Linked DNA regions of Homo sapiens: regions 1, 2, 4, 5, 6 and 7 are each linked to region 3. Evidence: promoter capture Hi-C in 16 types of primary human blood cells and fetal thymus (Javierre and others, 2016). All regions are on one chromosome and are shown on one strand. The core of a region is centred on a gene start or on the middle of the fragment in contact, and the rest is flanking DNA. Distances in the headings are between cores, read along the strand shown.

Region 1 (4,359 bases), core at 1,825-4,324, 620 kb after region 3:
ATATATGAGGAAACCAGGGCTCAAGAGATTAAGCAAACAGACCACAGTGACAGAAGTGGTAAAGCTGGAGTCAGGCTTTAAATTCAGGCCTGTGCTCTTTCTGCCACACCTCACTGCCTTTTACTTGTTATGAAAACTGATTTCATTTATATCTATCACTGAGAGAAAGGAAAAAAGAGCTTACCTTCTCCTGTAGGTTACCCACGTAGCCCAGATACAACCGGATGGCTTCAATTAAGGTTATTAGGATGATAACAGTGATCACAATGAATTTGTAGTAGTCAGGTAAGATTGAATACTAAAAGAAAAGCCAAAACATGTTTGTAAAATCTCATGTATAGTAACATTGATTTAAGATAGAAAAAATTATTAAGAACTTGAATTTTATTGACACTCTAACAACGTCAGGGCAGCAAAAGTATTAAAGCTTAGATTTACCTTCATGTGAAGCATCATAATGCTGCTCACCCACCACAGTGGGAAATAGTAGGTATTAAAATAAAGTGACATCTGCAGTGCCAAACTGGAGACCATTTCATTTTCTACAGAAGGAACAGAAAAGGAACAAATGATGAATCTTGGGTTTATGCCCTATATATATATATCCTATTCCCTAGAATTAATAACTATAATATTGGCTCAGTAAAACACCAAATTTTATGCCTATTTATAATCATTGACAGTAAAAGGAATATTCATCCTAATACCAGTTAGGTCAAATATTGGCTATTTGGGGGTACGTTTCATATTTTTCAATTATTTTACCATTTTGCCATTACAGTCTTCTGACTTTTTGGCATATACTACTGGTATAGATTTAATGTAGAATATCAACATAAATCCTATTCAACAGATAATTATCATTGCCTCTTTTGTAGAATTCTATGTAAATAGCATATAAAATTAATGCATAAAATAAATAAAAATGAATCTCCCACAGATAAACTAATCTTATACAAAAACGGATTACCAAGGTTATAATTAGACACATCTCTCTTTTCAGCATACCCTAATCTTAGCCATTCTTTAAAGTCCAATTCAGTGTCATCTTTTCCATCAATACTTCCTTCATCAGTTCCCCCACCTCAGCAGAAATACCTTTCCCCTTTAGGTACTTACCACTCTAAACTGTCAATAAGAAGTGCTAGCAAAGAACCACACTCCCCTCCCCAAAAAACAGTCTGGTGTACTGAACAGATCATGGGCTTCAGAGTTCAAGCAAATCCGAGCTCCCCAAACCTCTGTGACCCTGGATGTCAGACTTGACATGAATTATTTAAACTCTTTGAGCTTCTATTTCTTCATCTGTAAAATAGTGAAATTAAAACTTCCTCACAGGCTGTTTGTGAGAATTAGAGCCAATATAAATTATTTCATCCTAGCACTGTGCCTGGCACACTTAGTAGGCACTCAACAAATATTAGTCCTCTTTCCTTCTTCTCTTCTACTTATCTACAGGCTCATTGCAAGCACACACCATGTCCTACCCTAATTTGAGACCCTCATAGAATCTAGCATCTTGCTTTCCACGCAGTGAATATCAAATACACATAAGAATGAATTAATGAAAGTATACTGTCATAAGGACATTACTAGCATAGCCATTTGTGATACATGAGTTCCATTTACCTAAGGTTGATTCCATAACACTTTCTGCTTTTATGTAAGAGAGCAGGGTCCTAGATTAAGAATTTGATTTTTAAAATTGAGCCCTACAAAATACATCCTAAATTTGACTAAATTCTTAAGAGCAGACACATATATTGAAATCAGTTGCTGTACACGTAAGATTTTAAAGGCTCTAAAATAAATGTCTTAAAAACATTATTTTCTCCTTTTCTCCATAGCTGAGTGTTTTTATCTGTCACTTAATTATTTTAAAATATAAGAAATAGTCATGGTCTCTCACAGCAAAATAGTTTCTTTTAGCTCCAAGAATATGCCTGATTATTATGATCTACTTTTGCTTGCAACTGTTTATTAAATTACCACTGATAAAGGAATGAATTCTTAAAATCTGTTAAATCTGAAGACAACTCACCAGCCTAGGATCTTTTCGATAGCAACAGTACAAAGCTGCGGACATGGTAATGACATAAACTTGTTATTACAGTACAAATAATCAAACCTACTTCCAATCCACAAAGAAGAAAATTTGGGAAAGAATAATAAATTGGGCAAGCTGAACATTTCAGTACCTTTGAGAAGAAACTGTAGTCAAATTTTGCAAAGAATGGTTTTCATGTTAGAAGTATTGTGTGTTAACATCTTAAAGGTTATGCTATGTCCATATTTCAGCAGATCAAACTTATAATCATGGAAATGAAAATCAAATTAATATGTAAATGAACCTTAAAAGCGTAAGACATAAACTTACTAAATTTTGCAAAAGTTCAAGTTGAGTTCTGTAAATGGAATTTAAATTAAAACATACAATATAAATCAGGGATAGGTAAACAACTGGCCAGCTGCCTGTTTTTGTACAGTCAATGAGCTAAAAATGTTTTTTCACGTTTAAATGGTTAAAAAAGTAATATTTTTTCCACACGTGAAATCCATATGAAATACAAATTTCAGTGTCCATAAAGTTTTATTGGAACACAGCCCTGCCTATTCAATAACTATTGTCAATGGCTGCCGTGGAGACCATATGGCCTACAAAGTCTAAAATATTTACTATCTGGTCCTTTTCAGAAAACGTCTTTTTACCTTGTATTATCAGACGTTAGTGCTCATTAAGCCTCATCCTTGGAACCAGAAACGTGAAAACCTATTTTTTTCACATTTTTCTCTGTACATCCTAAATCATAAAGGCCTACATTTGGGAAATAGGCAAGTGATCAAGGTGACAAAATGCAGCTTTGGGAACTGCCTTTACTTTTCTCTGTCCCTTTTAAAAATTCTCTAAAACCAAGCAGAGGAAAAGATTGATATTTCCCAGCAGAGTTGAATGATGAAAACCACATGGGTTTGGTTGACAGTGTGTTGTCTACCATCATGATGTAGGAGGAGGAAACTGTTCTGGAGGAAACTGTGTTATCACTTGACATCAAGTTAAAGGACGCAGAAGCATCATGGTATTTTGTTACCTTATGATAAGAGTTACATATAGGGGAGGAGGAGAAGGCAGGGAAGGGGTGAGTTTTGTTGAACGCCCGGCTAGTATGGCACATGCCAGTGGGAGTGGATGGTGGTTTGAAAGGACTCATTAACTTTTTTTTTTAATGTCTTCTACGAGAAAATGGCCTTGCTTAGGAACATACTTGTTCTGCTAGGAAAAGGGAAAAGGCAAATTTGTTCCCTGGGGTGGGGGTGGGGACGGGGGAGGTGGGATTGCTTGGGCTATTCCTCGTCATCCTGGACAGAAAAGCCGGGGCGGGCGCCGCAGAGGCAAAACAACTTGGGCCTTCGCTCTCGCGGCGCGCGGGGGACCAGCCTGTGCAGCAAGGGCGGCTTTTATCTTTTTATTTTTGGGGTTTCTCCGGGACAATGATGGGCCTTGCGCGGCACAGAGATCGGCCCCACGTCAGCTGCCGCGCTTGCAACAAGCTGGCCAGGGAGCACCACGCGGAGACCAGGCCCGGCCGGGGGCGGGAGGCCGCCAGCGCCTCAGCTCCCTGTCCGGCCCGGCCCCTCCTCCAAGGCGCTCTCCCGCACTGCGGAGAACTGGCTGAAGGCGACATCGCCATTTTAGGTACGGGCAAATTCTGGACGCTCCAAAATCCACGCCAAGCCCTCGGCAGGCCACACCCCCTGCACCGGGCCTCGGTCACTCACCCGGACCCTCATTGGACTCTGGACCGGTCCGATTGGAATCACTGAACACGGCCCGGCTGAAGTTTCCCAGCCGCTGGCGCACCGGATCCGGCAGCTCCATGCCTGGGCCTCAGTATCCCTCACCCCCTCAGACACGGGCTAGTCTGCGGGCGCTCCGAGGCTCCGTGGTTCCCACGGCAACCGGGCGGCGCGAGGCCGGCGGGACCCGGGAGCGCGCGGGGCTGCCCGGCTGGGCTGGGTCTCGTCCGGAGCCCGCGCAACCTGGAAGGGACCGGCGCGCTCAGAGCGCGTTCCAGGCCCAGGGAGCCGCGCGCCTCGGCCGTGTACAAAACGGCAGATCCCTTAGTTCTGCTTTGAGCTCGACCATCCTAAAAACAAACCTATACTAAGAAATGAGCTGGGGTTGGACTGCGATACAAGGAGCCCTCACATTTGCCAGTGGAACTGTAAATCGGTACAACCTTTCTGGAGAGAAATAGAGAACGAATGCAGAGCTTAAAGAATGTCTAGAGGTGTAGGGGTGTGTGTGAGAGAGAGAGACATCATGTGACTGATTATTTTTTAATAAGAAAACAGCAATGG
Region 2 (4,061 bases), core at 1,288-3,787, 710 kb before region 3:
GCTCAGAACTCCTCTGGCTGGGAGTTTGCCTCTCTTGCAGCCCCCTGTGTCTGCTGCTGTCTGGATCATAGCAGTCTGGCTCCCTGCCCACTACCCCAGCACCGAGCCCTAAGGCCTGAGGAACCTTGTGGGCCTTGTGTCTTTTCCATCTCTCTTGGCTCCTTTGCAAGGATAAGACCCAGCCACTGCCAGGCAGCAGCCAGAGGACGGGTTGTTAGGGCTTGTCCTAACACCTCCCAGCTGCTCTCCTCCAGCAGCGAGTCTCTAGGGTGGCAACTGGGACCCACTGGGGAGGAGGCAACACTCTAGTCCTGAGAGAAGTCTACCTGCCTGGTATCCCCCACACAATGCCCTCAAGCCAGAGCCTCCCTCCCCTCCGTGGTCAGAACGTACTGTCCCTTTCTGTCCTTCCATCGCTTTTGTGACTGCTTCTCCCCTTCAGGGTACTCCTTTGTCCTGCTTTGCCCAGGCAAAGAGTACCCTGGGACAAGAAGAGGAATATGGGTGCACTTGCCCCACACTCCTCTCAGGACGGCGGACTGCTGACTCCTCATGCCCTCTCCTTGGCCATGGCCTGCCTGACCTTTCTTCCGTGGCTGCTCAGGGGGCCCTGGAGTGGTGGAACCCTGTGAGGGCAGCTGAGCTATTCAGTGAGGTAGGGCAGTTTTTCATAAAATCAATTTTTTTTTCTTTTTTGAGACAAGGCTCACTGCAGCCTTGACCTCCCAGCAATCCTCCCACCTCAGCCTTCCAAGTAACTGGGACCACAGGTGTGCGCCACCATGCCCAGATAATTTTATTTTGTAGAGACAGTGTCTCCCTGTTGCCCAGGATGGTCTTTAAACTCCTGGGCTCAATCCATCCTCACCACAGCCTTTCAAAGTGCTGAGATTATAGGCATGTGCCACAGTGCCTGGCCCAGTTGTTACTTTGTATTATAATTGAAGAACCCATTTTGCTCATTTTAGGCATCGTTAAAGAATCTGGAGTGAAGCACAAGGGATTGATTGAAATACCCAATCTTTCTGAGGAAAATGAAGTAGATGACACTGAGGTATGTGATCAAGTTTCTATTTCTTTTGTTCTTTTTTCAGTCAAGCTTCTGCTACAGACATTGGGCATTTCAAATAGTGTTGATCAGACTGTGTGGTTCCTGTGTGGTAGTTCGGGTGCCTTGTGGAGGGCCTGTTTGCCGAGAAGGATTGCCGTACTGTGGGGGCAGCGTGTTGTGTGGAGCTGGAGTGGTACAGGAAAGAGAGTAAGCCCCAGGAAGCCCTGAGCTCCCCCGAGGACCAGGCAAGGGGCCTGGGCAGCTGGCTGCACCCTCCTTAGCCTCCTCATCTGTGAAAAGGGGTTAATTTCTCTTCCAGGGGTGTTGTCACGTTAGATGTGACAGTGTGTGCACTGTAAACTGCTCAGGCAGCTTGCATGGCTTGATGAATGTGACTCTCCCTCTTCTCCTGCACCTTTGCCGTTTCCCTTTAATGGTGAAAAGTCTCAGCCTTTAGCTGCTATCTCTCCCTTGGTTATGCCTCACGGTTTTTTGTAAACTACCCAGTTAGTACGTGTTGCTTTTGTGGCTCTCTTGGTTCTCTTGGGAGACAGAGCCTTGTGTAACTCCCATGCTTGGCTTCAAGTTAGTGCCCTCTTTTGGCTGAAAGCTGGGTTTTGGGGGTGAGACCATTTGTACAGCCGCTATATTTTTCAAACGAGGATAGTCTGACAAAGGATTTTTTTTGATTTGTGAACGTATTTAACATGAAGGCTTTTCAAGATAGGCTGACTCCTGCCCAGCAGTATGTCTTATGGCACGAAGGTTATGCAGTGCCACAGGCCGGGGGCTGTCCCAGACCTCTGTCTTCAGTTATGTGGTTCCTCTGCTCAGGGCCTGAGATTCCACTTTGTTATATTCAGATCCATCAGCTGAGAAATTTTTCAACAGAATGTTTAACTGGTTTTTAAGATTTAATCTCTCAGTAGCATTACGGAACAAACTCTTTAGATTCAAACTGGGGCCCGAGATCAGGCCCCCCTCAACTGAAGCATCGGGACACTAAATTTTTTCAAATCGACCCCTTTTTCTTCTGGGAATACTAGAGACATCCCCACAGCCCTCTGTTGCTTCCTTCTCCCTTGGCCTCCCCCTTCTTCCCTCTCTTCTTCCTTCCCTCTGCCTGTCTTCTACTCTTCTCCCTTTCCCAATTTTCCTCTCTGCCAAAAAAGTATATAATCCAAGGCTGGGTTGTATGGGAACTTGATTTCCCTAATTACGGTGGCTTTTGGGTTCTATACCAGCACTGTTCCATGTAAATATAATGCAAGCCACATGTGCAGTGTAAGTTTTACTAGTAGCCGTACTTAAAAAGTTAAAGCTGTGGCTGGGCATGGTGGCTCACACTTGTGATTCCAGCACTTTGGGAGGCCAAGGTACGAGGCTCACTTGAGCCCAGGAGTTCGAGGCTGCAGTGAGCCATGGTCATGCTACTGAACTCCAGTCTAGGCAACAGGGAGACCCTTAAAAAAAAATTAAAGCCAGGTGTAGTGGCATATGCCTATAATCCCAGCTGCTTGGGAGGTTGAGGGGAAGGATTGTTTGAGCCCAGGAGTTTGGGTCTAGCCTCCGCAACATAACGAGATGCAAGCTCTTAAAAAAAAAAAAAAAAAAAGATAAACAGGTGAAATTAATTTTAATAATATATTTTATTTAACCCAGTATATATAAAAAAGATTTTAGCATGTAATTAATATAAAAATTATGAGGTATTTTACATTCATTTTTGGTAGTAAGTCTTTGGAGTCTGGCACGTATTATTTCACACAGCACATCTTGATTCAGGCCAGCCATATTTCAGGTTCTCAGTAGCCACATGTGACTAGTGGCTACCATACTGGACAGTGCATTTCTAGACCCCATGAAAGCCATGGACCACATCAGCAATAGGATTTATATACATACACATGCACAACTTTGTATGCAAATTAAAGGGTTTACATTCTATGAAGTCCATGCAAGATTTGGCCCCCAACCCTGTCATGGACCCTGGATTAAAAACCCTTAAAATCCTGCCCTATCACATCTCTTACATCTACTTCTTTCCTTCCTCCACTGCCATAGTTCTCTCATCCATACAGCCCAATGTTGTAAGAATACATCAAACCAGATCTTTCTTTGGTTTCTATTTTTCTGATTTGTAGGTCAACGTTGAGTAAAAAGAAAGGAGATGGGGTTATACTGAAGGATCTTATGAAAACTGCAGGCACTGCCAAGGTCAGGGAGGCCCTTGGAGATTACCTGAAGGCACTTAAGACGGGTAAAGAAGGCATCCCTTGTGAATCAGAGGGGTCCCTTTTCTATTTACCCAAGTTATACTCTACACTGTGGTCAGAGGCTCCAGAAGCAAGTTTATACTTCAGAATAAATTGTAGTCTGGAAGTTGAGAGCTAGTCATCGTTAAGACCATAATTAGTGATAATTAGTATTGTACACAGCATGAACCATTTTGCCTACAGAACTGTTAATTGTAGTTTTCTGGAATGAAAATCAGTTGTTCGTGTAATTACTTGTTTAATGTCTGACTTCCTTGCTAGACTATAAGCTCCATGAGGGCATGGAAGGTGTCTGTCTTGTTCACTGCTGTATCTCCAGCATCTAGCACAATGCCTGGCACATAGTAGGTGCTTAATAAATCTTTGTTGGATGAATGAATGAATGGATGAAAGTGACTGCAGGTATTACAGGTGTAATTGAGAAATACCTAGATAATATCCGCATTGCATGGAAGTGAGGTTATTGTTGTCTTCCCTAAATTAGAGAAGTGAGGCAGGCAAGATGGCCAGCAGTGCCTTATCTCTGTACCTCGTTCTTGGACCCTACCACCTGAGTATCTAGGTGTTGGCATAGATGGGTTTGGGGTTGTCACTTTTCCCGTGAGAGCGCACATATAGCTGGCTCACAGGCTTTTGAATACTGTGAAGACAAGCTTTGTGAGGCAGTGGTCACCCTCACGTGAGAAATTGTCTGTTTTGACAGTAGGTTAGAGCCACAAAGCTATTAGTAGTTA
Region 3 (4,327 bases), core at 810-3,309:
CGGGTCATCTTCACAGATAACTTAGGTGGCCTTTCCTTCCCACATGCACACCCTCCTCTGTTGTTTCAGTTCTTTGTCTGCTTTTGTTTCAAAGGTTGCTAAATTTCCCACTTATTTTGTTTGTTGAATATCAACCATATTATAAACTCTCTTGGCCCCCAAATTTATCTTTTTTTTTTTTTGAGACGGAGTTTCGCTCGTCACCCTGGCTGGAGTGCAATGGCGCGACGTCAGTTCACGGCAACCTCCGCCTCCCAGGTTCAAGCTATTCCCCTGCCTCAGCCTCCCGAGTAGCTGGGACTACAGGCCTACGCCAACACACCCACCTAATTTTGTATTTTTAGTAGAGACGGGGTTTCTCCATGTTGGTCAGGCTGGTCTTGAACTCCTGACCTCATGTGATCCGCCAGCCTCAGCCTCCCAAATTGCTGGGATTACAGACGTGAGCCACCCTGCCCGACCCAAAATTTATCTTTCAACATTCTGTTCCTAATCTAATAAATGTAAGCTTCAACTATGGTCCCTAGACAATTATCCTACAAACCTTCGTTTCCAGGTGTATTATCTCCTAAACTTACAAATGACTCCTAAATCTGGCCATTCTGACCTTTCCAACTCATTAGGACAAGTTAGAAACTATTACTTTTTCTTACATCCAGCGTTACCTATCTTAGCGCCATCACATTCCCAGTTACTTGGGCTGATGACTGCAAACACATGTAAGGTGTACTTTATATACGTGGGTCTTTATATGCTTTCTCACTGAATCCTCACAGCAAGCCTACACGATGGCTAAAAAGAAATGATCCCATAGCTGGGGGAGATTAAGCCAAATACTTTCCAGGACACCAGGCCTTTAACATCTGCCCCAACCTAGCTTTCTAATCTCACCTCTTCTGTAAACATACTACTATTCTCCAACCCAAAAGAACTACTATACTCAATATACACTCGGGCAAGATCTCTAAACCTCTGTCCTGACTTTTCCTTCCAGATTTTTCTATTTCAACTCGATTTCTCTTAATCTTAACTCTAAAAAGCAAACATTTTCCTCCAATTTTATAAGTGAATCTTTGGCACAGAGGTTACAGGTCACTAAGACATGAAGTAACGGAAGCAGAGAATGAAACTCTGGTCTTCCTGATTTCCAACGTGTGCCACACACTTCCACAAAAAAAACAAATAATTGTTTCTTGATTTGCCTATGTTTCACTGCACATGCGGAGACGACATCAACGTAACTTTTCCGCAACTATTTCAAACACGACACGTAAGTCGGTTCCCACATCCATCCCAGTACAATGGGCCCCGCCCCAATTTAGACTCGGAGAGTTCACCCAATTCGTCTCAACAGTTGTGCCAAGTGAAGTTTATTTAATAGTTCTTTAAATAAGAATAACAAAGCTGAAAGATACTGTGCATTCTACCAGTTCCAATAAGCAATAAGCGACAGCCCTCAAGCGTCAGATCCCTAGTGAAGACTGCATGCAATCCTCGGCATTTTGAACTGCTTTCGGCTCCAATATGAATGATGCACAGTGCAGGATGAAAAACTAAGGGAGATTAAGATGCAAAATGGGGCAAGTCCAAAGGCCTCCATACTCCGGGTTGGCGATCATCGGCAGAAAAACAGAAATAAGGATCCCTCCACTGGGCTGCTTCTATAGGGAGGACAAGAGAGGATCACCCGAAGAAATGGGAAATGAGCCAAACCCGCTCAAGCCCACGATGAGAGCGCAGAGCACAACCCCGCGGCGCCGCGGGTCAGGCCATGAGAGTGATACCTTTGGCGGCGGAAATGTTGCTGAAGCGGATCTGGGCTGGCTTGTCGCGGTCCTGATAGGCGCCTTTCCCGCGGCCGCCGGCAGCCCCGGCAGTCGCCCCGCTCCGGGGTGCCACATTCTCGGGCATGGCAAACTCCGCTGTGTCTGGGTTGGCTCGGGAAGGACGGATGGACCCGGATTCTGGCCGGCCGCAGTGTAATAACGGTAAGCCCTCACTGCCTTCACGAACCTTCCAGAAAGCGGCGCCGGCGTCGGGAGGAGGCGGAGGCGGAGAAGGGGGCCTTCCTTGCCGCGCGGCGCTGGCGTGACGTAGGAGGCTGTCCGCTGCGCGCCGGGCGAGGAGGATGCGTGCGGTGGGCTCCGGGCTGGCGAGATTGTACGCCCGGGGCGCTGTGGGTGAAGAGCGCCGGGGGAACCTTTACGCGAGGCAGCAATGACAACGCGCGATTTTAAAGGCGAGTGGTGAGGACATCCGCATTTCCTCACTCCACCTTGCACGGCTATGAGGTCCCCTCCTTTTTTTTTTTTTTTTTTTCTTTTTTTGGATACAGTCTCACTCTGTTGCCCAGGCTGGAGTGCAGTGGCGCAAAATCTCGGCTCACTGCAGCCTCCGCCTCCCAGGTTCAAGCGATCCTCCTCAGCCTCCCGAGTAGCTGGGATTACAGGCGTCCGCCACCATGCCCAGCTAATTTTTGTATTTTTAGTAGAGACAGGGTTTCACCATGTTGGCCAGGCCGGTCTCGAACTCCCGACCTCAGGTGATCCACCCGCCTCGGGCTCCCAAAGTGTTGGGATTACAGGCGTCAGCCACGAAGCCCGGCCTTTTTTTTTTTTTTTTTTTTTTTTGACAGAGTCTCGCTCTGTCGTCCAGGCGGGAGTGCAGTGGGGCGATCTTGGCTCACTGCAGCCTCGACCTCCGGGGCCCAAGCGATCCTCCCGCCACAGCCTCCCAACTAGCCAGGACGACAGGTGCCCGCCACCATGCCTAGCGAATTTTTGTATTCGAAACATAGCGAGACTGGGTTTCGCTGTGTTGCCCAGGCTGGTCTGACCTCCCCGGCTCAAAGCGGTCCACCCTCCTCAGCGTTTCAAAGTACTGGGATTACAGGCGTGAGCCACCGCGCCCACCCGGAGGTGCCCTCCTTTAACTCCGGCTGGATCTATCCGCGAGGTGGGGTGGGCGCCGGAATAACTCTCTAAGGGATATGACTGAGTCTGTTTTTGCCCGGCCACATAGACCTGCATTTTATGCAGTTTTGTTCATTTTGAAAGGGAGTCAGAAAAGGGAGATTTGGAATGAGGCGAGGTTAGTTATCTCGTATTGGTTGATACTGGGTGGTGGAGGTTTGACAGACTGCCAAATCAGGTCTGTCTAGTTACCACCGCCCGCTTGTTCTACACTAGTGTCTCCTGCATGACGTAGCCACTGACTCTTAGGGAACGTAAACATTATAATAAAGATCATTTATTTCCGTTATCTGCTAAGCACAGTGCTAAACCTTTACACGTTTTATATCTCGTTTAGTCCTCACAATAATCCTTTACTTAAAAGGTGAGAGAACTGGAGCCCAAAGAAGGAACTGAAGCCCAGGGTAAACGAGTCAGTAGATAGAAGCAGTATTCCAATACAAAGCAAGGACCAGAAGCCATGAGCTAAACTGCTGGTCTCCTATGACCACTATATTTCAGTAGGGAAGTTTATGAAATGAGGTTTGTTGAATGTTCGCTCACAATTATTAAGCACCTGCAAAGTGACAGTTGCGTGTGGTAGGTTCAGAAACAAATGTTCAAAGGTACTTAATCTTGTAATTATGAGGTGGTGGTGGTGTTGTTTGTTTGTTTGTTTTTGTTTGTTTTTGAGACGGAGTTTCACTCTTGTTGCCCAGGCTGGAGCAGTGGCACCATCTCGGCTCACCGCAACCTCCGCCTCCCGGGTTCAAGCGATTCTCCTGCCTCAGCCTCCCCAGTAGCTGGGATTACGGGCATGCACCACCATGCCCGGCTAATTTTGTATTTTTAGTAGAGACGGGGTTTCTCCATGTTGGACAGGGTGGTTTCGAACTCCCGAGCTCAGGTGATAGGCCCGCCTCGGCTTCCCAAAGTGCTAGGATTGCAGGCTTGGCGAGAGCCACCTCGCCAAGTTGTTCTTTAACACACATTTAGCATATTAGCACTAGGGGCCTGGCTCAGTAGCTCACGCCTGTAATCCCAGCACTTTGGGAGGCCGAGGTGGGTGGATCGCTTTAGGTCAGGAGTTTAAGACCAGCCTAGCCAACGTGGCGAAACCCCGTCTCTACTAAAAATCAAAACATTAACCGGGGGTGTAATCCCAGCTACTCGGGAGGCTGAGGCAGGAGAATCCCTTGAAGCCAGGAAGTGGAGGTTGCAGTGAGCCGAGATTGCGCCACTGCACTCCAGCCTGGGTGATAGAGCAAGACTTTGTCTCAAAAAAAAAAAAAAAAAAAAAAGAAGGATATTAGCACTAGGAAATGAAGATCCATAAACCTCTGAGGCCGACTTCTCTTCAGAGGACCAGAATACTC
Region 4 (3,808 bases), core at 1,027-3,526, 680 kb before region 3:
TGCTCACCCAGATAGATGCATATTCTGATTGCCTCCTTTGGAAAGACTTATCAGAAACTCAAAAGAACGCAACCATCTGTCTCTCACATACCTGTGACCAGGAAGGCCCCAGAGGAAGGAGAGGCCTTGCTTTGGGTTGTCTCTGCCTTTCTGGACAGAGCTAATGTACTTCCTACATACAGATTGATGTCTCATGTCTCCCTAAAATGTATAAAATCAAGCTGTGTCCCAACCACCTTGGGCACGTGCCATCAGGACTTCCTGAGGCTGTGTCACGGGCGCGTCCTCAACCTTGGCAAAATAAACTTTCTAAATTAACTGAGACCTGTCTCAGATTTTCCGGGTTCACAATGGTAACCTCAGTTTCTATACTGTCAAATAAGTAGGCTTTTGGGAAATTATGTGTGCCCTTAATGAAATCACATGTATTTCATTTTTGTCCCTACAAATGAATAAAACTAGTCTATTTCAAATGGCTGTTCTAAATACAAAATAATGGGAAAAGTATGGAATTACTATGGAAAAAGGAACAGCACCCTAAAAATTATGACCTAATTATTCTTGGGATATAAATTCAGGTTTACTGATCTATATAATTAAAACCTTGCCACCTGTAAAACAGTTTACCATAAACTCTAAATGTCTATAAAGTAAGTCTTGGTGAGAACATTAAAATGAGATAATATCCACAGTAAAATGCAATAGAATATTTACCTCTGTCATTAGAATCAATCCTCGATTAAATACAACAAGAAGTCTGTCTTCATCAGATTCTAATAGTATTCTGAAGGCACTAGAAGAAAACATAAAGTTCAGTTTGAGAAGTCTGAATAAGAACACAACACTTAGGTGATGAAAAAATAAAAAGAAATAAAATCATCATTTAAGCTCTCTGCTTTCCTACCTACAGAAAAGAGACTGCTTCATCTGTTTCCTGGAAATGCAGCATAAGGAAATAATATTAAATAAACTCTAACTAAAAAAAAGTCTATTAATATCTAATCAACTGCTAATTATCTACAATGGCAGAAGATATGGGAATATTTTTAAAGTTTCCACATAAACAATGTTGATTTTTATAATAGGCTCATCTTCTGATTGTTAAATTCTGGATAATCATAAAATTCACCATATTATCTAAACACTCATCAGCTGGTAATTAAAAAAGAGTAACATGAAGGAAAAAAATACTAAAAACGTGTCAGCCTTGAAAATAGTTTATAAAATACAGTCATGTGCCACAAAATGAAATTGTGGTAAATGATGGATCACAAACACAATGGTGGTCCCATAAGATTATAATGGAGCTGATAAATTCCTATTAGCCTAGTGACTTCATAGCCATGGTAACATTCACAATGCATTACCCACATGTCTCTGATGACGCTGGTATAAACAAACTTGTTGTACTGCCAGTCTTGTAAGTATACCACAATTATGTACAGTACCTAATACTTGATAATGTTAATAAATGACTATGTTACTGGTTTATGTATTTACTATATTATCATTATTTTACTACTTATTTCAAAAAAAGTTAAATGTAAAACAGCCTTAGACAGGCCCTACAGGAGGGATTCCAGAAGAAGGCATCATTGTCAGAGGAGATGACAGCTCTAAGCTAGTTACTGCCTCTGAAGACCTCCCAAGTGGGACAAGATGTGGAGGTGGGAGACAGAGATACTGATGATCCCAACCCTGCTAGGCCTAGCCTAATTGTGTGTGTTTATGTCTTAGTTTTTAACGAAAACATTTAAAAAGAAAAAAAATTTAAATATGAAAAGCTTATAAAGATATAAATACTTTTGTTCAGCTATAAAATGTGTGTTTTAAGTGTTATGATAGTGTGTTTTAAGTGCTACGATAGAAGAATCAAGAAGTTAAAAAAACTTATAAAGTAAAAAAAGTTCAGTACATTAATAATGAAGAAAAAGTATTTTAAAATAAATTTAGTGTAGCTTAAGTGTACAGTGTTTATAAAGTCTATAGTAGGGTACAATAATGTCCCAGGCCTTCACATTCCCTCACCACTCATTCACTGGCTTACCTAGGGCAATTTCCAGTCTTGCAAGCACCATTCATGGTAAGTGCCCTACACAAGTGTACCATTTTCTGTCTTTTATTCCATATTTTTACTGTACCTTTTCTATGTTTAAATACGTTTAGATACACAAATACTTACCTTTCTGTTATAATTGCCTACAGTATTCAGTGTAGTAACATGCTATACAGATTTAGAGCCTAGGAACAGTTGGCTATACCATATATCCTAGGGGTGTAGCAGGCGCTACTATCTAGTTGTGTGTGAGTAGTCACTCTGATGTTTGCACAATGATGAAATAGGCTAAAAATTTATTTCTCAGAATGTAACCCTGTTGTTATGCAACACATGACTATAATTACTCACACAGCTATATTACTGTTAACAGGTCTTCTTTCATTAGATACCAGAAAAATGTTGTTATAGACTACAACTGGAAATCCTTCTACTTTATTCCTTTCCTTTTTCAAGAAGAGTTAAGAAAGCTCCAAATCTTTTTTTTCTTTTTTTGAGACTCGCTCTGTCACCCAGGCTGGAGTACAATGGCACAATCATGGCTCACTGCAGCTTCCACCTTTTGGGCTCAAGGATCTTCCCACCTCAGCCCCCCGAGGAGCTGGGACTACAGGTGCATGCCGTCACACCCTAATTTATTTGCTAACTTATTTATTTATATAGAGATGGGGTTTTACTATGTTGCCCAGGCTGCTCTAAATCTTTTTTGAAATAAAGCTTTAAGTAGTAAACTTTGGGAAAACAATTGTATTCAAAATTAATCCAAAATTTAAAAACAATCCCTTTAAGAAATCCGGCAAAGGCGTAGTTAATTTCCCTGTTTACTAATGAAGACTCACATTTGAAAGCTTTCCAAAGAAGACAATCTGAAATAACCTCATCTTAGATTGAGTAGCTTAAGATATTACAGTGAAGTCTTCAGTAAAGTACCATTAAAAAAAATGTGCCTAATAAAAAACAACACTTCCAAGTCTTAGATGTAATACATAGAAGAATTTAAGAAATTAGCCTGAACTTTATTTCTCTAGGTTAAGGGGAATTAAGGGTAATTTGTAGTAGTTCCTGTAACCATTCAATAACTTCTGTAGCTCTGAAAATTAATTATAAAGACTATGTTTTATAATTTTGGCCAAGTCATATAGATCAGAAAGCCAGATAGATATATTTGGGCTAAACAGAATGCAAAATATTAACAGACTCATCCAAAGGTGCAGAAAACTTCCTGGAGGCCTCTAGAACTGAACTATCAAGCCTGAGTTAGGATAAATTGCCATAAACAAGACTATTCAAGCTTTGGGTAGAAGGCTATACATAAAGGTTCCCTTCAACCCTAAAATGATAAAACATACACAAATACAAACCAAAGCCAGACCAAAAACTGTTTAAAAGTAGTTCATGAACCTTCAAAATGTTCCAAAGTGGCTACATGCACAAATGCTTCCCCAATGTAAATGATTTATCTTTAAACATCAAAAGGATGGTCCTCATCTCACTGGAAATAAACAAGACAAAACTAAAAACATCTTTTTACCTTATTAAAGTAGTCCAGCAGGAGCGGCCATCTAAGCAACGTAAGTAACAACTTATGGTTGTTTTCTTGAACTGTTTAATATCTTCTAATTCTTCTTCTCTCATATCTGGCCTCTGAGCTATAAACAGCTGCATCAGGTTAAACAGTTCTTCTACTGCCTAAAAAAGCCAAATAAGCCATATGATCTTTTAACCCTATAGCATTTTAGAAGGTCAGTTTCT
Region 5 (4,103 bases), core at 686-3,185, 830 kb after region 3:
TGATTGGTAGAGAAGGAAAAATGGATGATGTGGTGGGAGAGGAGGTAACCTTAGGACAGAAAAGTCTTTGAGTGAGAGAAAGAGAAAAGGATCCAGAACACAAGTGGAAACGTTGAACTTAGGTAGAAGCAGGGACCATTCATTGTTACAAGGGGAGAAGCAGGGTACATGGGTAGAGAAGCAGATAGGTTGGTAGATTTGGTTGGGAAGGATGTGGACATTCTGTTTTCTCAGGGAAATGATATAAGAAATCATCTGCTGGGAGGGAGGTGACAGTTGTTGAAGAACTGAGGAGATGAGGTATGAAGTTGTCAAAGTGAGAATGAATTGACTAGGGAAATGTAGGGGGATTGCTGGGTAGTAGTGATGACCTTCTTAACTTTGTGATTATAAATTTTAAGTGAATGCAACCAGCAAGTTTGCATATTTTAATCCAACTGTGTTCAGTGCTTTGGTGCAGGCATGGAATAGATAGAGTTGGATTTGACCAGGATTGGATTTTGTCAGGAATGTATAACTGAGGGGAAGAGAGACAGGGAAATTGAGAGCAAATGTGCAGGAGTGGTTTTAGTGATGAACCATGGAATATAAGCTGGAAAAGGAGAAGGTAAGTACGTGAAAGATGGGATAGTCAGTGAAAGCATGAAAAGGATAATGATTGAAAGATTTTAAAGAGGTTGAAGAATTGTTGGGGTTGGGAGCTGGAAAGATGGGAGGTGGAAGAGTGTGAGATGCTTGATTTTGAGGATGTGGTTAATGTTAATGACAAGATACTGGTGGTGTCCTTGGATCACATGTGCATATCTGTTTACAAAAATGAGCACATATCCCAATATATTTTTAATATACTGCATACATGAAATATGAGTATACTTTAATTTCCTTTAATAAAATAAATACCTTTAAAATAAATAAATTTAAGTAGAATTTCTTGCTGTGTTTGAGTAGATAATCTTTTGCACCTTCCAGGTATTCCTATTCCTTGTTAGAGACTATAGCTATTAGTATATAACCATGAGAGTTGGTGGCTGAGGTGAAATGGAGTAAAAGATTTTTTGGGTATGAAGAGGGTGGTCAAGGAATTTAGAGGCCAATGTGTGGACAGATTATTTGTGTGGCTCTTGAAGTTGCCAAGAATAATGGGAGGAGAAACATTTAAGACAGGGAGTCAGGTGCTAAACTCTTTTTTTTTTTTTTTTTGAGACAGAGTCACACTCTGTTGCCCAGGGTGGAGTGCAGTGGCTCATTGCAACCTCTGCCTCCTGGGTTCAAGTGATTCTCATGCCTCAGCCTCCTAAGTAGCTGGGATTACCGGCATGTACCACCATGTCTGGCTAGTTTTTTTGTATTTTTAGTAGAGACAGGGTTTTGCTATGTTGGCCAGGCTGGTCTCGAACTCCTGTCCTCAAATGATCTGCCCACCTCAGCCTCCCAAAGTACTGGGATTACAGGTCTGAGCCACGGCACCTGGCCTGGTGCTAAAATCTTTAATGTATGAGGGGAGAGATGGGGCAGAAGGTTAGATGACTGCAAAAGGAAGAGGCAAGGTAAGAAAGGTATTGTTCCCTAGTTTCTAGGCTTGCTTCTAGAGAGGTTAGTTTGCAGTACTTTCTATGTTGCAAGTTATGTGAATCTTGAACATCTTATTCCTTGAAACAAAATAGCGCAGTCTTTTCTATATTGTAAGTTGTCAAAGGCATATGATTTTAGCAAATGCTAAATTGATGTTACTTGTTTGTAATTTCATGATAGTATCTTATAAACTGATTTTTTTTAAATTGTAATTGTTACATATTGTGTTTTTTCCAGATTTTAAGTCTTTATTCTATGTGAAGAACAGTTTTACAAAATTCAATTGTGGTGGGTTCTTTAAGGAATATAGTGGAGCCACTTAATGCCATAATTGGATATTGATGTGCTTACATCATGATTATGTCTACACATGACTCAAAATATGCCTCTAGATCAAGAGTTGGCAGGCAAACTCTGGCCTGATCCAAACTGGCTCTTTTGTTCTCTAAAAAAATAGAGAACAAATTTTTTTCTGTAAATATTCACACTTTGGGAGGGGCTGAGGTGGCAGGATCCCATGAACTCAGGAGTTCAGTAGTTCAAGACCAGCCTGGGTAACATGGTGAGACCCTATCTCTTAAAAAGAAAAAAAGAAAGAAAGAAAAAGTTTGCTGACTTCTGCTTTAAGTCGTGGGAGTTACTTGCAGCTAGTGTTTAGGGAATACAGAGTCTAGCACCTTTCTGTGTTCTCTGTGCTCAGGCTCTAAACTATTAGTTTAGTCTTATTCCACTCAAACTACATAAGTAACAGAGAAGAGACCATTGTGCCAGTTTTCCAGCCTTATAGAAAGAAACTTTAGAACAGCTTCTGAAAACATTGAGGTCTGTGTCTGTGTAAAATACATATTTTCTGGCTGTGTGACCTTGGATGAATTATCTCTTGGTACTTCTTCAGTAGTGGAGATGATAATAACACTACTTCCAGCATAGAGTTGTTTTGAAGATTAAGTAAGATAATACCTGTAATAAAGGGGTTAGAACAGTGTCTGACAGAGTAAGCACCCAGAAAATTTTACCCATTGTTGTTATTATTTTTTATCTGATAAATAAGCAATGAGTGATGAAGAGAACTATCTAGAGAGAAAGGTTAGAGTAGGTGGGAAGAAGACTGTAAATATAACCTGAACTTTTAAGAGTGTTAGAGAAAGATGAACTAGCATAGGTTGGAGTGACCAGGGAGGTAGGAGTAACCAGGGAATGTGCCTGCAGAAGTACAGTGCTGAAATGAGCTAAGTTTTGACAATACTTTGACTTTTGGGGAGAGGAACTACATATTTTTGCTTCTGAAGCAAAATCAATTCCTATGGTTTTATAACTTTATTTCCTTTTTATAATAATTTCAAGCAAATGTTGGGCTAAGAAAACTAACTTAATTTCTCCAAAGTAGAATTAATTTGCCAGCATTTGTGTATGCATGTCTGTGTGTTCGTATGTGTCCTGTAGCGATGTTTTATGATATTTATGATGTATTTCTTTTCTTTTTTTCTTTTGAGACAGAGTCTTGCTCTGTCACCCAGGCTGGAGTGCAGTGGCACAATCTTGGCTCACTGCAGCCTCCACCTCCCGGGTTCAAGCAATTCTTCTGCCTCGGCCTCCCGAGTAGCTGGGACTATAGGTGCATGCCACCATGCCCAGCTAATTTTTTGTATTTTTAACAGGGATGGGGTTTCACCGTGTTAGCCAGGATGGTCTCGATCTCCTGACCTCGTGATCCGCCTGCTTCGGCCTCCCAAAGTGCTGGGATTACAGATGTGAGCCACCGTGCCCAGCCGAGTCACCGTGCCAAGCCATTTTATGATGTATTTCTTTTCTTTTTTTTTTTTGGTATTTTAAAAATATATTATTTCTGAATTTTAAAGAGTCATATGGCTACCCAGAATAAAGATTATATTTTCCAGATTTCCTTGCACTTGGTGTGGCCATGTGATTAAATTCTAGTCAATGTAATATGAGGGGAATTGATGTGTACAACTTCCAATTAGAGTCTTTGAAAGGAATGGACCTGACTTCCTCTTATCTTGACCCATTCTTGATAACTGAGGTATGGACCCAGAAGGAATGACGATTTTCAACTATGTGAATGAGATCAACAACTGGGGGATGATGGGTAACAAGACTGAAGAAAGTCAGGGTCCCAATATCATCAGGTTGCTTCCAGCCATACTACTTCTGAGCTGCCTACTTAGACTTTTTTTGAGAGAAACGTTTTCTATCTTATTCAGCTACTGTATCTTTGGATGTCTTTGCTACAACAAACTAATCTTTACCCTAGCTAATACATGTTATGCTTAATTAACCCTATTATCGCTAAGATAACGTCAAAATTTCACATCTTGGAGTAAGAGAACATCTTGCTCTACACCCTATTTTATCACTCTAGCTTCTCCTCATTCTCTTACTCCTACTCTTTCATTCTGAATTACCCTGAATTCATCATAAATGCATGGTTTCTTTCAGATCTTGACCTTTCAATGTCCCACCCATTTCTTGCCCCACCCATTCCTATCTCCTCTACTTCCAGAATTTTCTGC
Region 6 (4,089 bases), core at 1,274-3,773, 820 kb before region 3:
CTCAGAGCTATATATGGGCTTGATGATCTGCCTTCCAAGTTAATATGGGTGACATTTTTCCCCAATACATTTGGGAACAGTCACTAGCCTTCTGGCCTGCAATATGTTTCCACCTGCTAACCAATGCCATATATATCTTAGATCTTTGTTATGGTAGGTGGCACACCACTTTCAGGAACCAACTTTCTCTTCTAGGGAATACACTAAGCCACTGTAACAAAGAGACTAAAAAATACAGTAGTTAAGATAAACATTTTTCTCTCATGGAACAGACCAGAGGTACTCTGCTTCAGAAGGTAATTCAGGGCCCAGGTTCCTGCTATATTGTGTTCTACAGTCCCTTATGTGTTATTCTTTGTTTGTCGTTTTTGAGATGGAATCTCGCTCTGTAGCCCAGGCTGGAGTGCAGTGGCACCATCTCGGCTCACTGCAACCTCTGCCTCTCAGGTTCAAGTGATTTTCCCCCATCAGCCTTGGAGTAGCTGGTATTACAGGCACCCGCCACCACGCCTGACTAATATTTGTATTTTTAGTAGACATGAGGTTTCACCAGTCTGGTCTCGAACTCCTAACCTCAAGTGATCCTCCTGCCTCAGCCTCCCAAAGTTCTGGGATTACAGCGTGAGCTAACTATGCCCAGCCCCTTATGCATTATTCTTGTTTTCATGGTTGTAAAGTACCACCATCACAACTAAGTACCAGCCTATATGAAAGAAGAAAGAGGGGAAGTAGAGGGCAAGCAGTTTCTGTTTAAGAATTTACCTGGCTGGGGCTGGGTGTGGTGGCTCACACCTGTAATCCCAGCACTTTGGGAGGCTGAGGTGGGCAGATCACCTGAGGTCAGGAGTTCAAGACCAGCCTGGCTAACATGGTGAAACCCCATTTCTACTAAAAACACAAAAATTAGCCGGGTGTGGTGGCACACGCCTGTAATCCCAGCTACTCGGGAGGCTGAGGCAGGAGAATCACTTGAACCAGGGAGGCGGAGGTTGCAGTGAGCCAAGATCGCGCCATTGCACTCCAGCCTGGGTGACAAGACCGAAACTCTGTCTCCAAAAAAAAAATAATAATAATTTACCTGGCTGGGCATGGTGGCTCACGCCTGTAATCCCAGCACTTTGGGAGGCCGAGGCGGGCAGATCACCTGAGGTCAGGAGTTCAAGACCAACATGGTGAAACCCCATCTCTACTAAAAATACAAAAAATTAGCTGGACATGGTGGCATGCGCCTGTAAATCCCAGTTACTCAGGAGGCTGTGGTAGGAGAATCGCTTGAAGGGAGGTGGAGGTTGCAGTGAGCCCAGACGGTGCCACTGCACTCCAGCCTGGGCAACAGAGCAAGACTCCATCTCAAAAAAATAAAAAAAGAATTTACCTGACTTAACCTAACATCTTATGATACGACACTTGCCTAACTTTATTTTTATTTTTATTTTTGACAGGGTCTCACTCTGTTGCCCAGCTTGGAGTGCAGTGGTGCAAACATAGCTCATTGGGGCCACCACGCCCAGCTAACTTAAAAAAAAAACAACTTTTTTTTTTTTTTGGTAGAGACAGGGTTTCACTTTGTTGTTCAGGCTGTGCTCAAGCAATCCTCTCGTCTTGGTCTCCCTAAATGCTGGGATTATGGGATTACAGGTGTGAGCCACCGCACCCAGCCACTTTAATGTCTTTGTGGAACAAAAATCGTAAAAGATCTGCAGAAAGTCACAGGATGATACAATTGGTAAAAACTCCTGACATTCTGTACAGTGAACCACTTAATCTCTACTTAATCATCAGATCTCGTAGTAATTATTCATTTGGTTAAGGCTTTACTTTTTCTGTTCTTTCTAATCCTAACATTTAATTTTGGTTCTCAGAATAGACCAAGTGGAAATTAGATAGAAATGTTGACATGTAGCAGTTACCCTACAATATTGAGCCGTTTGCATTTTACTAGATGCCCAATAGTAGTGTTCCTCACAATAACACACACACACACACACACACACACACACACACACCCTATTAATGTATGAAAACCGAATTTGTAATCCAGAGCTATTTACATTTTTAAAGAGCTACCTCCTGGTAAAGACACTTCAGGTCCTTACCCAAAGACCTTGGTCTAAAAGATACTTTCGGTGTCCCTCATCATGCGATCTTTCCGCTCTACCTAAGCGGTGTACCAAATGATCTGCACCAAGAACAATTTCATCCATTCTTTAATCTTTTATCTCCTGTATATCCCCCTTTCTTCTGGACTCAGGGTTGGTCACCTAAGATCAGGCTCCTAGGATCTGGTTGCTAAGAGACAAGACGCTGGGAGGGTGGGGACGCTGCACTGCGACAAGCCTGGGAGTGTATGCCAGAGGAGGAAGGAGAAGCAGCAGGCAAGGCAAGGCGACAGTCAGCCGCCGCCGCCCCTCCGGTGCCCTCCCGCCCGGCAGGGGCTCGGCGCTCATTGGCTCCGCCGCTGCGGCGCTGGCCCGCGATTGGCCGGGCGGCGTCGGCTCGGCGGCTCCCCCACCCCTCGGCGCTAGTCTCCGCAGCCGCCTGCAAGCGGGCGGGGGCGGGGTGTGAGGCGCTGCGGACGGGGTTGCGGGCTCGGTAGCGGCAGCTTCAGGGCGCGAGCGCGGGCGGTGCCGACCACTGCAGGTAACAGAGGCGCTGCGAGGGCAGCCGCGGCCCTGTGGAGGTGAGCGAGACGCCGAGGGGGCTCGGGTGCCCACCGCGGGGCGGGAAGTGCGGCATGGGGCGGTACCGCTCACAGCCAGCCGGCTCCCGCCGCGGCTTCCCACCCCGGGCGGGGTCCCACTTGCCCAAACGCCCCCGAACGCCCCCGTGCACAGCCTCAGCCGGCCGCGCCTCGAGCAGCCAGCTGGCCCGCGTCCCGTCACCCGCCCGGTCCATGTCCCTGCAGACCGTCCCGCCCGCGCACAGCGGCGGGAACCCCAGCTTCTGCGCGCCCGGCCGCGCCCCGGGCCTCTGCCCCGCCTCGCTCCCGCTGCCCGGCGCCTTTGTCCGCTCTGCGCCCCTGGAGTTTCTGTGCCTCCACGGGCGGGAGCGGGGCGCGAAGGTCTGGGGGTGCCCCGAGGACGCGCCGCGTAGTGAGCCTCCGGGCCCAAGGTTTGACTGGCTTTGACCTCATGCCGGTTCTGGGATGTGATTTTACTTTCTCCTCCAGCTGACTCCGATCTCCTGTGTGTGCAGAAGTCAGGAAGCCTGGGTACAAGGCTTCTTCCCGGTCCGGGATGACTCGGTGTTACCGCCGCCCTCTGTTAGGCCAGAGGCCTTTGACCTGCCTGCCTGCCTGCCCCACGGGGCCCCCTCTCTTCCCATCTTTCCACTGGCTAAGGGAAAACGTCTCTGTCTCCAAGAGCTTTTTTTTCTATTTGAAATAAGAAAAAAATATATCAGATTCCTGTTGTAGACCTCTATCTGGTGTGGAAGTGACTTAGACTAGTCTTCTTAATTAATACATGTATATTAAATACATAAACCAAGAGAAGGGGGTCGGGGAGGGGAGGGGAAGTATGTTCTTAAAAAATGAAGTCTGTTAAACATATTGGATTTTTATTTTTGGTAAATAACGTATTTTACCTTAAATATTGTCAAGATTTTGATATTTTATGAATGGGAGTGGATTTCATAGTAATTTGAACTTTGAGCTTTTTCTTGTCACCGTTTTTGATAAATTTATACTTTCCTGAATGAGGTGCACTATAACAGCTATTTCGAGATAATTTATGTTTTATTAAGGATTATCCATCAATGCTATGCCTTTTATACTTAAATTCAGACTCTGATTTCTTGGACATTCATTTAACTAGAATTAATGCTGGGGGGTCTTCCCTTGCCTAGTACAGTTGTATAAAGAGAAAGTCAACAGAAAAACTTTTTTCTCATTTGGATGATTTAAAGTACTCTTAAACATGTATAGCATAAATTAGTATCACATTTGAAATGTAAGCTTTTAAGTGTTTGACGTGGGTAATATTTTTGAACTTTTAAATGAATCTTTTTGGAAGTGAAGAGAAATGAGCTCTCAGGGAAGATCCTTGCCCTGAATTCCATTTTAGATTGCTTTCTACCAAGGCCCAAACA
Region 7 (4,217 bases), core at 1,345-3,844, 540 kb after region 3:
GTCTGGGCGACAGAGCAAGACTCCTTCTCAAAAAAACAAAACAAAACAAAACAACAACAACAACAAAAAATCTGGGGCTGTTATAATCATGCAGATTACCTGGTCTTTTTCCTGGAAATGCAGATTCAGGGATTGTATGGCCTAGGAATCTGTGTATTTGACAAATGCCCAGGTGGTTCTTATTTTCTGGTAAGTCTGGAAAACTCTCCTCTCTGGGAAAACATCTTTAGGCCCATGAAAATTAAAGATTAAGTACAGTATAGAAATTAGAAAGTATTTCAAATACATTGGATAGTATTAATTCTTTTTTTTTTTTTTTTTTTGAGATGGAGTCTTGCTCTGTCACCCAGTCTGGAGTGCAGTGGTGCGATCTCGGCTCACTGCAACCTCTACCTCCCGGGTTCAAGCAATTCTTCTGCCTCAGCCTCCCGAGTAGCTGGGACTACAGGCATGTGTTACCATGCCCAGCTAATTTTTGTATTTTTAGTAGAGGCGGGGTTTTGGCATATTGGCCAGGCTGGTCTCGAACTCCTGACTTCGTGATCTGCCCACTTTGGCCTCCCAAAGTGCTGAGATTACAGGTGTGAGCCACCGCGCCTGGCCAGTATTAATTCTTTTGTTTTAGGAATACTCTACACATAGTTGGCATTTTAAGTACTTATGATGTTTAAGAGAATTTGGTCTATGAGAGGAACAGCTGAGGCTTATAATTTGAATTTTTTTTTTTTTTTGGAAATAGGGTCTTGCTCTGCCACTCAGGCTGGAGTGCAGCCCCCCAGGTTCAAACAATTCTCCTACCTCAGCCTCCTGGGTAGGTACAGGCATGCATCACTACACCTGGTTAATCTTTTTGTGTTTTTTGTAGAAATGGGGTTTCTCCATGTTGCCCAGGCTGGTTTCAAATTCTGGGACTCAAATGATCTGCCTACCTCGGCCTCCCAAAGTGCTGGGATTACAGGCGTGAGCCACTGTGCCAGGCCTATAATTTGAATTTAAAAGTGTAACTGAAGAAGTTAGACTTGTGATTTTAAGTTGAAAGTTTAATAAATTTCTATGTTGGAAGACTTAGAATAATTTAAGTATTGCTATATTTATCAGTTTATTATATTTAGATTTTCAAAAAGTTATTAAGATTTTGTTTAAGTCAGATAATTGAGGTATTTAAAAAGAAATTGCATATATTAAATTTATAAAAGTAGTTTAAAATGTTTGAATGTATATACATAAGCTTATAAATAGGACCAAATATTAACCAACAACATTCTAAAGATGTTTGCTATAATTTGCTACAGTTATAAATGGGGGGAAAATCTTTCAAAGAACTTAAAATCTAAAGGAAGGTTTTTTACAGATGAATGGATAAACAAAATGTGGTATAGCCATACAGTGGAATATTATGCATCCTTAAAAAGGAAGAAAATTCTGTCACATGCTTCAACATGGATGAACCTGCAGGACACTCTGCTAAGTGAAATAAGCCAGTCATGAAATAACAAATACAATATGATTTTACCTATGTAAGGTTAGATTAGTCAAATTCATAAAGACAGAAGCAGGATGGTGGTGCCAGGGGCTGGGGCAGGGGAAGGAGAATGGGGAGTTAGTGTTTAACGTGTACCGAGTTTCAGTTTTGCAGATGAAAAGAATTCTGTGGATGGATGTTAGCAGTGGTAGAACAACATGAATATACTTAATGTCACTGAACAATGTGCCACTTAAAAATGGTTAAGATGGTAAAAATATATATATATATATATATCGAGGGAGAGAGAGAGACAGAGAAATGACACCTGAAAGTGCTCAATCCTTAGAACTTTAAAAGCTCTACTTACTGAAAATGTTGCCCAGTAAAGTATAATTATAATTATTGGTGATACAGTCAACAAATGTATGCCTAGTTAATTCTTTATAGTAAATTATTACTGTTGGAAAAAAAGCTAAAGGAAGATTTTTTAAATTGATCATGCCAAAAACTTATATATTTTTTTTTAAAAACCAAAGTTATCTTTAATCTTTTCCATGCAGAAAAACCACCTACAAGGACTCCTCAAACTCACAATAAACATAGACTGTTCTCATAGGTAAGTGAGGGTTCTAGGGCTCTAACCAAGGAAGTGGAATGATGGATGGAGAGGAGAGGGGCTTATGTGGCAGGTGTCACCCAAGTAGAATGGTACCACTGATGAAGCTATGGAAGAAGGATCAGATGGCATCTGGGGAAGGGGACACCACATGTTCAGGTAGAAACTGAGCATTCAGTAGCCAGCCTGATCCCAAGGCAGGGCACTCAGAGACACCGGGTAGAGGTAAGGATTTGAGGGCATCGGGAATGGGTGGTGGTGGAAGTCCTGTGTGCTGCAGAGAGGACCCGAGAGAAGTGTGGAGGGACCTTGGCCAAGGACATAACTCTGAGAAGTGCCAACACTTTCGGAGTGGCGGGGCCTGAGATGGCAAGATTCACTTAAATGGTCTAATTTCAGGACCCAGAATTCCTCTGCATCCCTCCTCCACCCCATATCTCTTCCAGGGCTTTGCCATGCCTGGAGTTCTTCAACCCAGGAAAAGTGGCTACAAGACCTTGATGTTCCACTCAGAGGACCAGGGATTATGGTGGGAGAGATGACATAAGGACTGAAATCACACAAAGGTGCAAATGACTAATGCCAGTAGGTTTCTGGAAGCAGGTTCCGTAGACTTGAGGGTGCACTCCGAGGAAAGCTGAGTGATGAGGAAGCACCAGGAAGGAAGTGCTCAGAAAAGGGGAGGCCGGTGGCTGGAGTGACTCCTGGTCTAGCAGTTCTTCATGTCCATCTTGTTTTCATGCCAAGGGAATTTCAGCCTTACCTTTGCCCAGGTTTGGGTGGCAATGATAGGGACAGGAGAAGGGAAATTCTGGGCAGAAGTGGGTGGGTCTCCAGCAAGGGCCTCACCCTCAAGCCTAAAACTATGGCCCAAAGTGAGAACATTCCTGTTTTCCTGCTTGACTGTTGCCTTTTCCAAAACCACCCATGGCCCGCCCCACTCCTAACCTGTGCCCAAGAAAGCCCCAGGCTCCACTAGCAGAGAGAGAAGAGAAGAAGCAGTTGGATGTCAGAGACTATGGTTGAATGTCGGAGAGAAGGGGCTTGACTTCAGAGGGACAGCTTGATGGCATAGCTTTGGAGAGGAGTCTGGCCAGGGATGGCCAGACTCCGGGGGAAGATTACCTACCCACTCCCTCCCCTTCTCAGCTCCCCTTCTCACTGAGAGCCACTTTCATCAGCAATAAAATCCCCTGCATTTATCATCTCCAATTTGTTTGTGTGACCTCATTCCTCCTAGACCTCAGATAAGAATTTGAGTGTGGGTGCAAAGGGCTGTCACACTGACCCTCCACTGAGCTGTTAACACTTAAGCCATCTGCAGATGGCAAAGCTAAAAGAGCATTGACTGAAACACTCCTTCTGGGGCTTTAGGGGTTGTGGGCACCCCCCTAGACACTGCTGCAGGGCCAGTACAGAGTTTGTTCCGGCTGTCACCCAAAAGCGCTCTCTCTGGCTCCTGCACCCGCTCACCTGCATGCTCCATCCCTGGAGGGGTTGAGTGTGGTGGATTCCAGTGAGTGGGGTTTGCCCCAGCTAGCACTGAAGTAGCTAGTTCAAACACCCACACTCCAGTTCCCACCCACAAGGGGTCAGGGAAATTTCCTGCTTCAGCAAGATCCCCTGAGAAATAAGTGAGGAGGAATCTCTTTCAGTCTCTGGTAAGGGCTGGTGGGGTGGAGGTGGGGGGTGAGTGGGAAGAAGCCACTCCATCAGCTTTGTCTTGGCCTTTGGTGTTTTTTGATCTTTAATTCCCCCAGTATTGGTTCCATCCCAGCTGTGGTTGGGCATCCCTGCTTCACTGGTTAATGAAGAACAGGTGCATCATTAGTTAATTACATCCTCAGGCCTCAGAGCTGCCCAAAAGGAGGAGGCAGTGGAAGCTTTGTACCACCTCAGACCACTGCTGCTGGAAGAGGGAAGGGAGCTGTGGTCAGAATGGGGCCCCTGCTCTCCACGAGGCTTTTCTTCCTCCTGGTCTCCTTCTCTTGCCTGATGGCTGGAATGGAAGCTCCCTGAGGGCCAGGCCCAGGCCCACCTCCATGACTAGCTTGCAGGCCTAGCCCCAAGCCTGGCTTGGCTCTCGGGCCCTGAGCCAAAGAGGTGAGTAATCAGGGGCTGCCCAGGCTCCATGCA

The links. The method cuts DNA at HindIII sites, captures the fragments that hold promoters and counts their contacts. A CHiCAGO score of 5 or more calls a contact.
Region 1: a fragment that was not itself captured here is called in contact with the fragment with the promoter of CCT4 in region 3 in 1 of 17 cell types (monocytes); the score reaches 7.6 in monocytes.
Region 2: a contact is called between a fragment that was not itself captured here and the fragment with the promoter of CCT4 in region 3, in 2 of 17 cell types (naive CD8 T cells and naive CD4 T cells). The highest score is 6.0, in naive CD8 T cells.
Region 4: a contact is called between a fragment that was not itself captured here and the fragment with the promoter of CCT4 in region 3, in 1 of 17 cell types (total CD8 T cells). The highest score is 5.3, in total CD8 T cells.
Region 5: a contact is called between a fragment that was not itself captured here and the fragment with the promoter of CCT4 in region 3, in 4 of 17 cell types (monocytes, neutrophils, naive CD8 T cells and 1 more). The highest score is 6.6, in monocytes.
Region 6: the fragment with the promoter of SANBR here is called in contact with the fragment with the promoter of CCT4 in region 3 in 4 of 17 cell types (naive CD4 T cells, total CD4 T cells, naive CD8 T cells and 1 more); the score reaches 7.0 in naive CD4 T cells.
Region 7: a fragment that was not itself captured here is called in contact with the fragment with the promoter of CCT4 in region 3 in 1 of 17 cell types (M0 macrophages); the score reaches 5.5 in M0 macrophages.

What each region holds. Positions count from the first base shown.
Region 1 is chr2:62,502,253-62,506,611 of GRCh38, forward strand. TMEM17 (transmembrane protein 17) reads right to left here and starts at 3,943. Exons shown (of 4, transcript NM_198276.3): 1 at 3,778-3,943; 2 at 439-542; 3 at 185-298. The coding sequence starts at 3,877. RefSeq lists an enhancer at 1-29 and silencers at 2,842-3,136, 3,474-3,643, 3,854-4,123. The HindIII fragment of the contact is 5,299 bases long and covers 426-4,359 here.
Region 2 is chr2:61,180,352-61,184,412 of GRCh38, forward strand. It overlaps the pseudogene AHSA2P. Among named protein-coding and RNA genes, the nearest start is that of C2orf74-AS1, 4.1 kb to the left of the region's middle. RefSeq lists an enhancer at 141-719. The HindIII fragment of the contact is 2,881 bases long and covers 1,098-3,978 here.
Region 3 is chr2:61,886,597-61,890,923 of GRCh38, forward strand. CCT4 (chaperonin containing TCP1 subunit 4) reads right to left here and starts at 2,060. Exons shown (of 14, transcript NM_006430.4): 1 at 1,785-2,060. The coding sequence starts at 1,911. It also overlaps a transcript of COMMD1 not described here. RefSeq lists enhancers at 1,088-1,649, 1,650-2,209, 1,751-1,830, 2,770-3,329. The HindIII fragment of the contact is 8,675 bases long and covers 507-4,327 here.
Region 4 is chr2:61,208,185-61,211,992 of GRCh38, forward strand. USP34 (ubiquitin specific peptidase 34) reads right to left here. Exons shown (of 80, transcript NM_014709.4): 69 at 3,588-3,745; 70 at 715-793. Among named protein-coding and RNA genes, the nearest start is that of C2orf74-AS1, 32 kb to the left of the region's middle. The HindIII fragment of the contact is 989 bases long and covers 1,783-2,771 here.
Region 5 is chr2:62,712,071-62,716,173 of GRCh38, forward strand. The region is part of intron 2 of EHBP1 (EH domain binding protein 1); the gene reads left to right. Among named protein-coding and RNA genes, the nearest start is that of EHBP1, 8.4 kb to the left of the region's middle. The HindIII fragment of the contact is 9,392 bases long and covers 1-4,103 here.
Region 6 is chr2:61,063,348-61,067,436 of GRCh38, forward strand. It overlaps SANBR (SANT and BTB domain regulator of CSR), which reads left to right and starts at 2,524. Exons shown (of 22, transcript NM_001129993.3): 1 at 2,524-2,680. RefSeq lists silencers at 2,304-2,673, 2,704-3,053, 3,064-3,123 and enhancers at 2,413-2,914, 2,915-3,414. The HindIII fragment of the contact is 4,406 bases long and covers 1-3,953 here.
Region 7 is chr2:62,428,973-62,433,189 of GRCh38, forward strand. It overlaps LOC105374764 (a long non-coding RNA gene), which reads left to right. Exons shown (of 6, transcript XR_002959390.2): 2 at 2,026-2,081. Among named protein-coding and RNA genes, the nearest start is that of TMEM17, 75 kb to the right of the region's middle. The HindIII fragment of the contact is 2,736 bases long and covers 1,227-3,962 here.